Linked DNA regions of Homo sapiens: region 2 is linked to region 1. Evidence: promoter capture Hi-C in human tissues and cell types (Jung and others, 2019). All regions are on one chromosome and are shown on one strand. Each heading gives the region's core, a stretch centred on a gene start or on the middle of the fragment in contact. The rest is flanking DNA. Distances are from core to core; before and after follow the strand shown. Region 1 overlaps KNL1 (kinetochore scaffold 1). Region 2 holds the start of GCHFR (GTP cyclohydrolase I feedback regulator).

Evidence for each region. Contacts are between HindIII fragments. The study calls those that stand out against the background at their distance.
Region 2: a contact is called between the fragment with the promoter of GCHFR here and a fragment that was not itself captured in region 1, in 1 of the 25 tissues and cell types used here (thymus).

The regions. Positions count from the first base shown.
Region 1 is chr15:40,630,504-40,634,905 of GRCh38, reverse strand. All of the region lies in intron 13 of KNL1 (kinetochore scaffold 1), which reads right to left. Among named protein-coding and RNA genes, the nearest start is that of KNL1, 38 kb to the right of the region's middle. The HindIII fragment of the contact is 5,341 bases long and covers 1-4,402 here.
Region 2 is chr15:40,760,916-40,765,317 of GRCh38, reverse strand. GCHFR (GTP cyclohydrolase I feedback regulator) reads right to left here and starts at 1,250. Exons shown (of 3, transcript NM_005258.3): 1 at 1,102-1,250. The coding sequence starts at 1,137. It overlaps DNAJC17 (DnaJ heat shock protein family (Hsp40) member C17), which reads left to right. Exons shown (of 11, transcript NM_018163.3): 11 at 1-157. It overlaps LOC124903474 (a long non-coding RNA gene), which reads left to right and starts at 4,050. Exons shown (of 2, transcript XR_007064599.1): 1 at 4,050-4,402. RefSeq lists an enhancer at 705-1,570 and a silencer at 1,237-1,686. The HindIII fragment of the contact is 4,829 bases long and covers 1-4,402 here.

The sequences.
Region 1 (4,402 bases), core at 1,128-3,627:
ATATATTTTCCTATCACTACCCCTCCTGACTTCAGCAAGACCTGGGAGGAAAGGGGAAGATTCATAACATCAATTTGTCAAGGATCAATTCCTAAAGCATCCTCTCCCTCCTTCACCCTGCCAATATCCTCCCTGTTCCTATCCTTCCCCTCTGCTCTCCTCTGTTTGGTCTTGGTCTCCTAATACTCTTTCTACTTTCCCTTTATAAGAAAAGTAGAAAGAGTATCAGCCCCTGGATGCACACCTAAGCTCCTTTCTCCTCCCTATCTATAGCTGAGGCAAGAGGATTCTACTGGCAGCTATCATGGTAATGAGGCTGAGGCCCAAAAGAGTTGTGTGCCCATCTTCCCAATTTCTATCCTTGATTTACCTTTCACATTCAAATATATAATTCTCCAGTAATTGATTTGTTTCTAAACAGCTTTATGGAGATATAATCCACACACAATGCAATCCATCCATTTAAGTATACAATTAAACGAATTTTAAAGTATATTCACGCACCAGGCGTGGTGGCTCATGCCTGTAATCCCAGCACTTTGGGAGGCTGAGGTGGGCGGGTCACGAGGTCAAGAGTTCGAGACCAGCCTGGCCAAAAGGGTGAAACCCTGTCTTTACTAAGAATACAAAAATTGGCCAGGTGTGGTGGCATGTGCCTGTAATCCCAGGTATTTGGGAGGCTGAGGCAGAAGAATCGCTTGAACCTGGGAGTCGGAGGTTGCAGTGAGCCAAGATCATGCCACTGCACTCCAGCCTGGGCAGTAAGAGAGAAACTCCATCTCAAAACAAACAAACAAACAAACAACAACAACAACAACAAAAACCTAAAATACAAACACACACATTAGCCTAGGCCTACACAGGGTCAAGATCATTAATATCACTGTCTTCCACCTCCACTTCTTGTCCTACTGGAAGGTCTTGAGAAATAATAACACCCATGGAGCTATCATCTCCTATGATAACAATGCCTTCTTTTGGAATAACTCCTGAAGGACTTGCCTGAGGCTGTTTTACAGTTAACTTGTTTTATTTATAAGTTGGAATATACTCTAAAATAACGATAAGGGCTGGGCATGGTGGCTTGCACCTGCAATCCCAGCACTTTGAGAGGCAAAATAGGATTGCTTGAGGCCAGGAATTTGAGACCAAGCCTGGTCAACATACCGAGACCCCATCTCTAAGAAATATTTAAAAATTAGCCAGGTGTGGTGGCTTGTGCATATAATCCTAGCTACTTGGGAGGCTGAGGCAAGAGAATCCCTTGAGCACAGGAGGTTGAAGCTGCAGTGAGCCAAGGTCACTGCACTCTGGCCTGGGTGACAAAGTGAGATTCTGGTTCAAAAAAATAAAATAACAATAAAGAGTATAGTATAGTAAATACATAAGACAGCAACCTAATGGTCTGTTATCATTATCAAGTATTATGTTACTGTACATAATTATATGTACTACCCTTTAACAGGAATGGCAGCGCAGGTTTGTTTACATTAGCATCACCACAAACATGTGAGTAATGTGTTGTGCTACATTACAATGTCACTAGGCAATAGGAATTTTCCAGCTCCATTACAATTTTTTTTTTTTTTTTTTTTGAGACAGAGTTTCGCTCTGTCGCCCAGGCTGGAGCGCAGTGGCGTGACCTCAGCTCACTGCAGCCTCCGCCTCCTGGGTTCAAGCGATTCAGTAGCTGGGACTCCAGGCACGCGCCATCATGCCTGGCTAACTTTTGTAATTTTTGTAGAGATGCGGTTTCACCATGTTGGCCAGGCTGGTCTCAAACTCCTGGCCTCAAATGACCCACCTGCCTTGGCCTCCCAAAGCACTGGAATTATAGGTGTGAGCCACGATGCCTGGCCTCCATAAAAATCCTATGGGACCCCCTGTGTATATGTGGTCCGTTGTTAACCAAAACGTCCTTACGCAGTACATGACTGTTCTTTGGAAAAATATCTTTTCAGATCCTTTGATCATTTTTAAATTGGGTCGTATTTTATTTATTTATTTAAATAGAGACAGAGTCTCACTATGTTTTATTTATTTATTTAAATAGAGATGGGGTCTCACTATGTTGCCCAGGCTGGTCTCAAACTCCTGAGCTCAAGCAATCCTCTAGTCTAGGCCCCTCAAAGTGCTAAGATTACAGGCATGAGCTACCAAGCCAGGCCTAAATTGGATTGTATTTTTATTATTGAGTTGTAAGAGTTCTTTATATATTTTGGATAAAGCTTCTTATCAGATGTATGATTTCAACTGTTTTCTCACATTCTGTGGGTTGCCTTTTCACTTTCTTCGTTTTTTTTTGAGACAGGGTCCGGCTCTATCTCCAAGGCTGGAGTGCAGTGGTACAATCTTGGCTCCTTGCAAGTTCTGCCTGTTGGGCTCAAGTCATACTCCCACTTCAGCCTCCCGAGTAGCTGGGACTACAGGCACATGCTACCAGGCCTGGCTAATTATTTCATTTTGTACAGGATTTCACCTGTTGCCTGGTCTGGTCTCAAATTCCTAGGGTCAAGCAATCCTCCTGCCTCTGCCTCCCAAAGTGTTGGGATTACAGATGTGAGCCATGGCACCCAACAAAAAATTATTTTAGTCTCTTTTAATCTATGAGTACGTTTTCTTTCTTAATCTTCTATATTTTAGCTTTCTCTTTTTTCATTCACTTATTTAATTAAAAGATGTGGGTGGGGGGGGGTCTCGCTATGTTGCCCAGGCTGGTCTTGAACTCTTGGTTTCAAGTGATCTTCCCTCCTCAGCCTCCCACATAGCTAGAATTACAGACACCAGCCACTGTGCGCAGCTGCTTATTTCTTCTTAATTAGACTCTTCAGGAGTTTTCTTATTTTATTGTCTTTTCAAAGTATAGCTTTTGGATTTATTCTTTTTTTTTTTTTTTTGAGATAGGGTCTTGTTCTGTTGACCAGGCTGGAGGGCAGTGGTACAATCATAGCTCACTGCAGCCTTGAACCCCTGGGCTCAAGAGATCCTCCCATGACAGCCTCCTGAGTAGTTGGGACCACAGGCACAGGCCACTACACTTGGCTAATTTTAAAATTTTCTGTAGAAACAGGGTCTCCCTATTTTCCCGAGGCTGGTCTCAAACTCCTGAGCTCAAGCATTCCTCTCGCCTTGGTCTCTCAAAGTGCTGAAATTACAGGTGTGAGCCACCATGCCTGGCCTGGATTTATCCTCTCCAACAATTTTTGTTTTCTATTTCATTAGCTCTACTTTTTACCTATATTAATTCTATCTTCCTATCTTTTTTGTGGATATTATGAGTATTAATATCTTGGCTGGGCACGGTGGCTCATGCCTGTAATCCTAGCACTTTAGGAGGCCAAGGTGGGTGGACTGCTTAAGCCCAGGAGCTCAAGACCAGTCTGGGCAACATAGCAAGATCTCGTCTCTAAAAATAAAAAATAAATAAATAAAAATTTCTTTAATTTTAGACTCCACGACAACAAAGATATCTAAGGCTTTTAATTCCTGCTAAGTATAGCTTTTGCTGTATGTCCCACAGACTAGCCATTAAATATTCTCCTTTACTAAGAAATATTTTCGACTTCTTTGATCTAGGAGTTATCTAGAAGTGTTTCCTGTTTTTTTTTTACCCAACTATGTTGTCTACAACAGCAGTCCCCAACCTTTTTGGCACCAGGGACCAGTTTCATGGAAGACAATTCCTCCAAGGACCAGGAAGAGGGGATAGTCTCAGGATGATTCAAGCACATTTATTGTGAACTTCCTTGTTTTTATTTTATTTTTATTTATTTTTATTTTTATTTTTTGAGACAGGGTCCGGCTCTGTTGCCTAGGCTGGAGTGCAGTGGTGCAATCTTGGCTTAATGCAACCTTCACTTCCTGGGCTCAAGCCATCCTCCCACCTCAGCCTCCTGAGTAGCGGGGACTACAGGTGTGTGCCACCATGCCCAGCTAATTTTTGTATTGTTTTAGAGACGGGTTCAGCCATGTTGGCCAGACTGGTCTTGAACTCCTAAGCTCAGGCGATCTGTCTGCCTGGGCCTCCCAAAGTGCTGGGATTACAAGTGTGAGCCACCATGCCCAGTCTGAACTTTATTTCTATTATTACTACATTGTAATATATAATGAAATAATTATACAACTCATCATAATATAGAATCTGTGGGAGCCCTAAGATGATTTTCTTGCAACTAGAGGGTCCCATCTCGGGGTGGGGAGGCACTGACAGATCATCATGCATTAGATTCTCATAAGGGGTACACAATCTAGATCCTTCATGTGTGCAGTTCACAATAGGGTTCGTGCTTCTGTGAGAACGTAATGCCACTGCTGATCTGAAAGGAGGCAGAGCTCAGTTGGTAATGCAAGCAATGGGAAGTGGCTGTAAATACAGATGAAGCTTTGCTCACTCCACCACCAT
Region 2 (4,402 bases), core at 1-2,500, 130 kb before region 1:
TCCTTTTGGGGTATTAGAAATGTTCTAAAACTGATTATGGTGATGGTTGCACAACTCTGAGTACACTAAAGAAACAACAACACTGAATTGTACACTTTAAATCAAAGAATTTATGGTATGCACATTACATATCAATAAAGCCATATCTTTTAAGAAATAAGAATCACTTTGGGGGGCCATTTCCAAGTATGGGTTCCCAAGCCCCAGACAGAGTTTTAGGAGGTCTGGGAAGGGACCCAGGAATCCACATTTTGGCAGCTGAGCAGATGGCTGCTTCACAAACCGCTGCCCAGGGCTCTGCAAGAGCTCTCTGTTGCGTGGTGAACCCACCAAGGGGGTTGTGTACCCTTTGCTGGTTCACCCCAGCACTGGGCAGTGAGCAAGGGCAGAGAGCACCTTGCTGCCCGTCATGTCTTTCTGAAGCTAAAAGGGGACTCCTGAGGGGCAATCAGAACCTTTTTACAGATAAGGAAACTGCGCCCAGAGAAAGGAACGTGACTTCTAACTCATGGTGTTCCCACCTCTAACTGCACAGCCCCTTCTCGCCTTCCTTTTTTCCAAGCAGGGTGTTCTTTCTTTTCTTCCTTCCCTAAAGCTTCAGGGATAGCCCTTCCTGGAAGTGCCTAAGGGTGCAGCTAGTTGCTGTTTATGGGTCAAGGACTTGGCACCGGGGTTTTAGCGCCTTGGCAGGTCCTTATCTTTTCCAAACCTCTTTCTCTCAGGTTATTCGCCCTTTTTTCCCCTGCGGAGCGGCTCTGTGCAGGGCACTAGGTGCTGCGCGTGAGGCCAGGGCTCCCTGGGTCTCTCCCGCCGACAGGTAGGACAGGAGCCGGAAGCGCCCGGAGGTCGCCCTGTTGCCGGGACGCACGTACCCGGGCCCCTTCGCGGCAATAAAGGCTTCAGGCCGGCCAGAGCTCGCTGAGTCCCGGAAGCCGAGCTGAGCCCGCTTCTCCACTCCCTCTCCCCGGCCAAGGGGGCGTGTCTGGGCGGGTTCCCGGTCCAGTCCCCGGTGGGTGCAGCCCAGGAGGGAGGCATGAAGGTGCAGTCGCAGCCCCCTAGGGCCTGGTCCCGGCTCCAAGTCGCCAGGCGGCCGGTACTCACCATGCGGATCTGGGTGCTGATGAGCAGGTAGGGCATGGTGCACGCGTCCCGGCCTGGCTCCCACCGGGGGCTCTAGGCTGGACGCCGACTCCAGCCCTTCTCGCGTCGGGACTGCGACGCGCAGCTGGGAGTCCCGTTACTCCGGCTCTGGCCACAGGCGGCGTCAATCCCGGGGCACCTTGCCCGTGACCGCCGTGGCCGCCAATCAGGAGCGGCTGCCGTGACGCGCCCTGCAGTCGGCGGTTCGGGGCCCGCCCCCGCCCTCCCGGCGGCGGACTTGGACCCCGGGGCCCACCTGAGGCTTCCGCCGAGTGATCCAGTTGCGGGAAGGTGGAGTGCGGGGAGGAGGGGGCGGTCCCACGACCTGGAAGGACACTATCCTGAAGCTCCAGCGTCCTCCAGGACGCTTAGTGCTGTTTTCTTTGCAGCCTGTGATCTTACTGCGTCCCCGCGCGCGTGTTGCCCCCGCGCCCGCTTCTTGAACACTTCAGGCCAGGTTCCAAAGTCCCCTGCCAGGCAGAGCCCAGAGCAAACGGCGTCCTCACGGAGGCCTCTCCAGGCCCCAGCCCACCCCTCTCAGAGACGCCTCGACAGCTTCAACGGGGCCCCACTTCCCCTCGCCAAGACATGCGCTCCAGAGATTCCTTAAGCGCTGAGGAGGCCGGGGCACGAGGCTCGGAGCTAGCCCTGAAGGCGACAACTAAAATACCACCCAGGGCGCACTGTGCATTCCCCCTCCCAGACTCTAATTCCAGCACAGAGGCGGATCCTTGCATTTCTGTGGACCCGCAGGAAAGTCTGTAAAGGAACCGCGCGCTTGGCTGGGTGCCAGGTCTGGAGTGACTGAATGGATGGAACCTGGCCTTCCCTCCCCTGAGCTTCCCGCGCAGCTGGACAGACGCGGCGCACGCGCAGGAGGTCACTGGGCAACACCTGGGGCAAATGAAACAACTTCCCCCGCACCAGCCACCAATGAGCGGCTGCGAGTTCCCAACCGTGTGTCCACGCCCCTCATCCGCAGTTATCAAAATCTGACAACTCATCCTTCTTTATCTGCCTTGTTGTGATTGGTTTTCTTTTTTCTTTTCTTTTTTTTTTTTTTTTTTGGACATGGAGTTTCGCTCTTATTGTCCAGGCCGGAGCGCAATGGCGCGATCTCCGCTCACCGCAATCTCCGCCTCCCAGGTTCAAGCGATTATCCTGCCTCAGCCTCCTGAGTAGCTGGGATTACAGGCCTGCGCCACGACGCCCGGCTAATTTTGTATTTTTAGTAGAGACGGCGTTTCTCCATTTTGGTCAGGCTGGTGGCGAACTCCCGACCTCAGGTGATCCACCCGCCTTGGCCTCCCAAAGAGCTGGGATTACAGGCGTGAGCCACCGCATCCGGCCTGTGATTGGTTTTCTAGAAAATAAAGCAAAACAAAAACAGCCTGTAGGTAGCCTTCCCTCCCATGGGAGGGTAATAATCTTCACTTTTTAAGAGGGGCCTTTATAGGGGATGCTGCCGTTCCAACACTTTGACAGACGTGGAGAGAGCTATAAGGGAAGCAGGAAGTTGTAATCCTAAACGTTCCTTAACTGGTCTAATTTATTATTCTGTAGTTCCTACCCCTGCCCTCTTACCCACTGACCTAACAAGTTAGCCAGAGAGATAAAACACATTCATGCTTAACAAAGGATGTGTTAAAACTGACGAAAGGGCCGGGCGCGGTGGCTCACGCTGCTAATCCCAGAACTTTGGGAGGCCGAGGCGGGCGGATCACGAGGTCAGGAAATCGAGACCATCCTGGCTTAACACAGTGAAACCCCGTCTCTACTAAAAGTACAAAAAATTAGCCGGGCGTGGTGGGGGCCGCCTGTAGTTCCAGCTACTCGGGAGGCTGAGGCAGGAGAATGGCGTGAACCTGGGAGGCGGAGCTTGCAGTGAGCCGAGATTGGTTGGGCCACTGCACTCCAGCCTGGGGCAGAGCAATACTTCGTCTCAAAAAAAAAAAAAAAAAAAAAAACTAACAAAAGATTGATGCCCAGGAGCTCCTACAACTCAGTGAGAAAAAGATGAACAATGGAAAAAACAGGGGTAACTGACTTGAATAGGCCCTTCACAAAAGAGGAAATAGAAATGACCAATAAACATATAACATGATGCCTAGTATATCATTAGAAATACAGGAAATACAAATTAAAGTCAATTTTACTTTTTTTCATTTTAACCAAATTTATTTAAACCCCAAGACTTTGTAGACACAGTGGCTCACGCCTGTAATCTAAGCACTTTGGGAGGCCAAGGTGGGAGGATCGCTTGAGCCCAGAAGGTTGAGGCTGCAGTGAGCCATGATTTGGTTTATTTTTAAGTAATTTATCCCTACTTAAAGACAGATTACCCTACATGTGAAAGCTATGTACAAAAATCATCCACTGATTAGAAGGATTTTTTTAAGTTATACAATTGTCCTTGGTTTTTACAATGATAAATGAAAAACATTAAAATTCTTCAGTTGAATAAAGTATGGAAGGATTTTTATGTTGTCATTTTTTAGTTAAAACAGAGCAAAATATAACTCACTGGAATATAGAGACAAGAGCTGAGCCGGGCACGGTGGCTCATGCCTGTAATCCCAGCACTTTGGGAGGCCGAGGTGGGTGGATCACTTGAGTTCAGGAGTTCGAGACCAGCTTGGCTAACATGGTGAAACCCTGTCCTACTGAAAATACAAAAATTAGCTGGGCGTGGTGGCACACACCTGTAGTCCCAGCTACTCGGGAGGCTGAGGCAGGAGAATCGCTTGAACCAAGGAGGCAGAGGTTGCAGTGAGCTGAGATCATGCCACTGCACTTCAGCCTGGGTGACTGAGTGAGACTCTGTCTCAAAAAAAAAAAAAAGTCAGATGTGGTAGCACATGCCTGTAGTCCCGCTTGAACCTGGCAGGCGGAGGCTGCAGTGGGCCAAGATTACACCACTGCACTCCAGCCTGGGCAACAGAGCAAGACTTCATCTAAAATAAATATATGAAAAAAAGATAAGAGCTGAATGAGCATGCCAAGAATGGAGAAAGGGGGTATTTTCACAGAAGCAGTATTTTTCCCAGTCCCATCTCCACCTGATGTCAATCAGAACACACCATTGGCCATTTTACAAAAAAACAAACAAAAACACAAATGCAATACGCTGGTGCACACATACCCATTACTGTATGTACAGCAAAGGAAAGGGGAAGGTGAAAATGAAATAAAACTATACTATATTGGTCGGGATGTAGTGGAACCAAATTGCAGTTTTCTAATTGAGGATGTAATCTTGGTC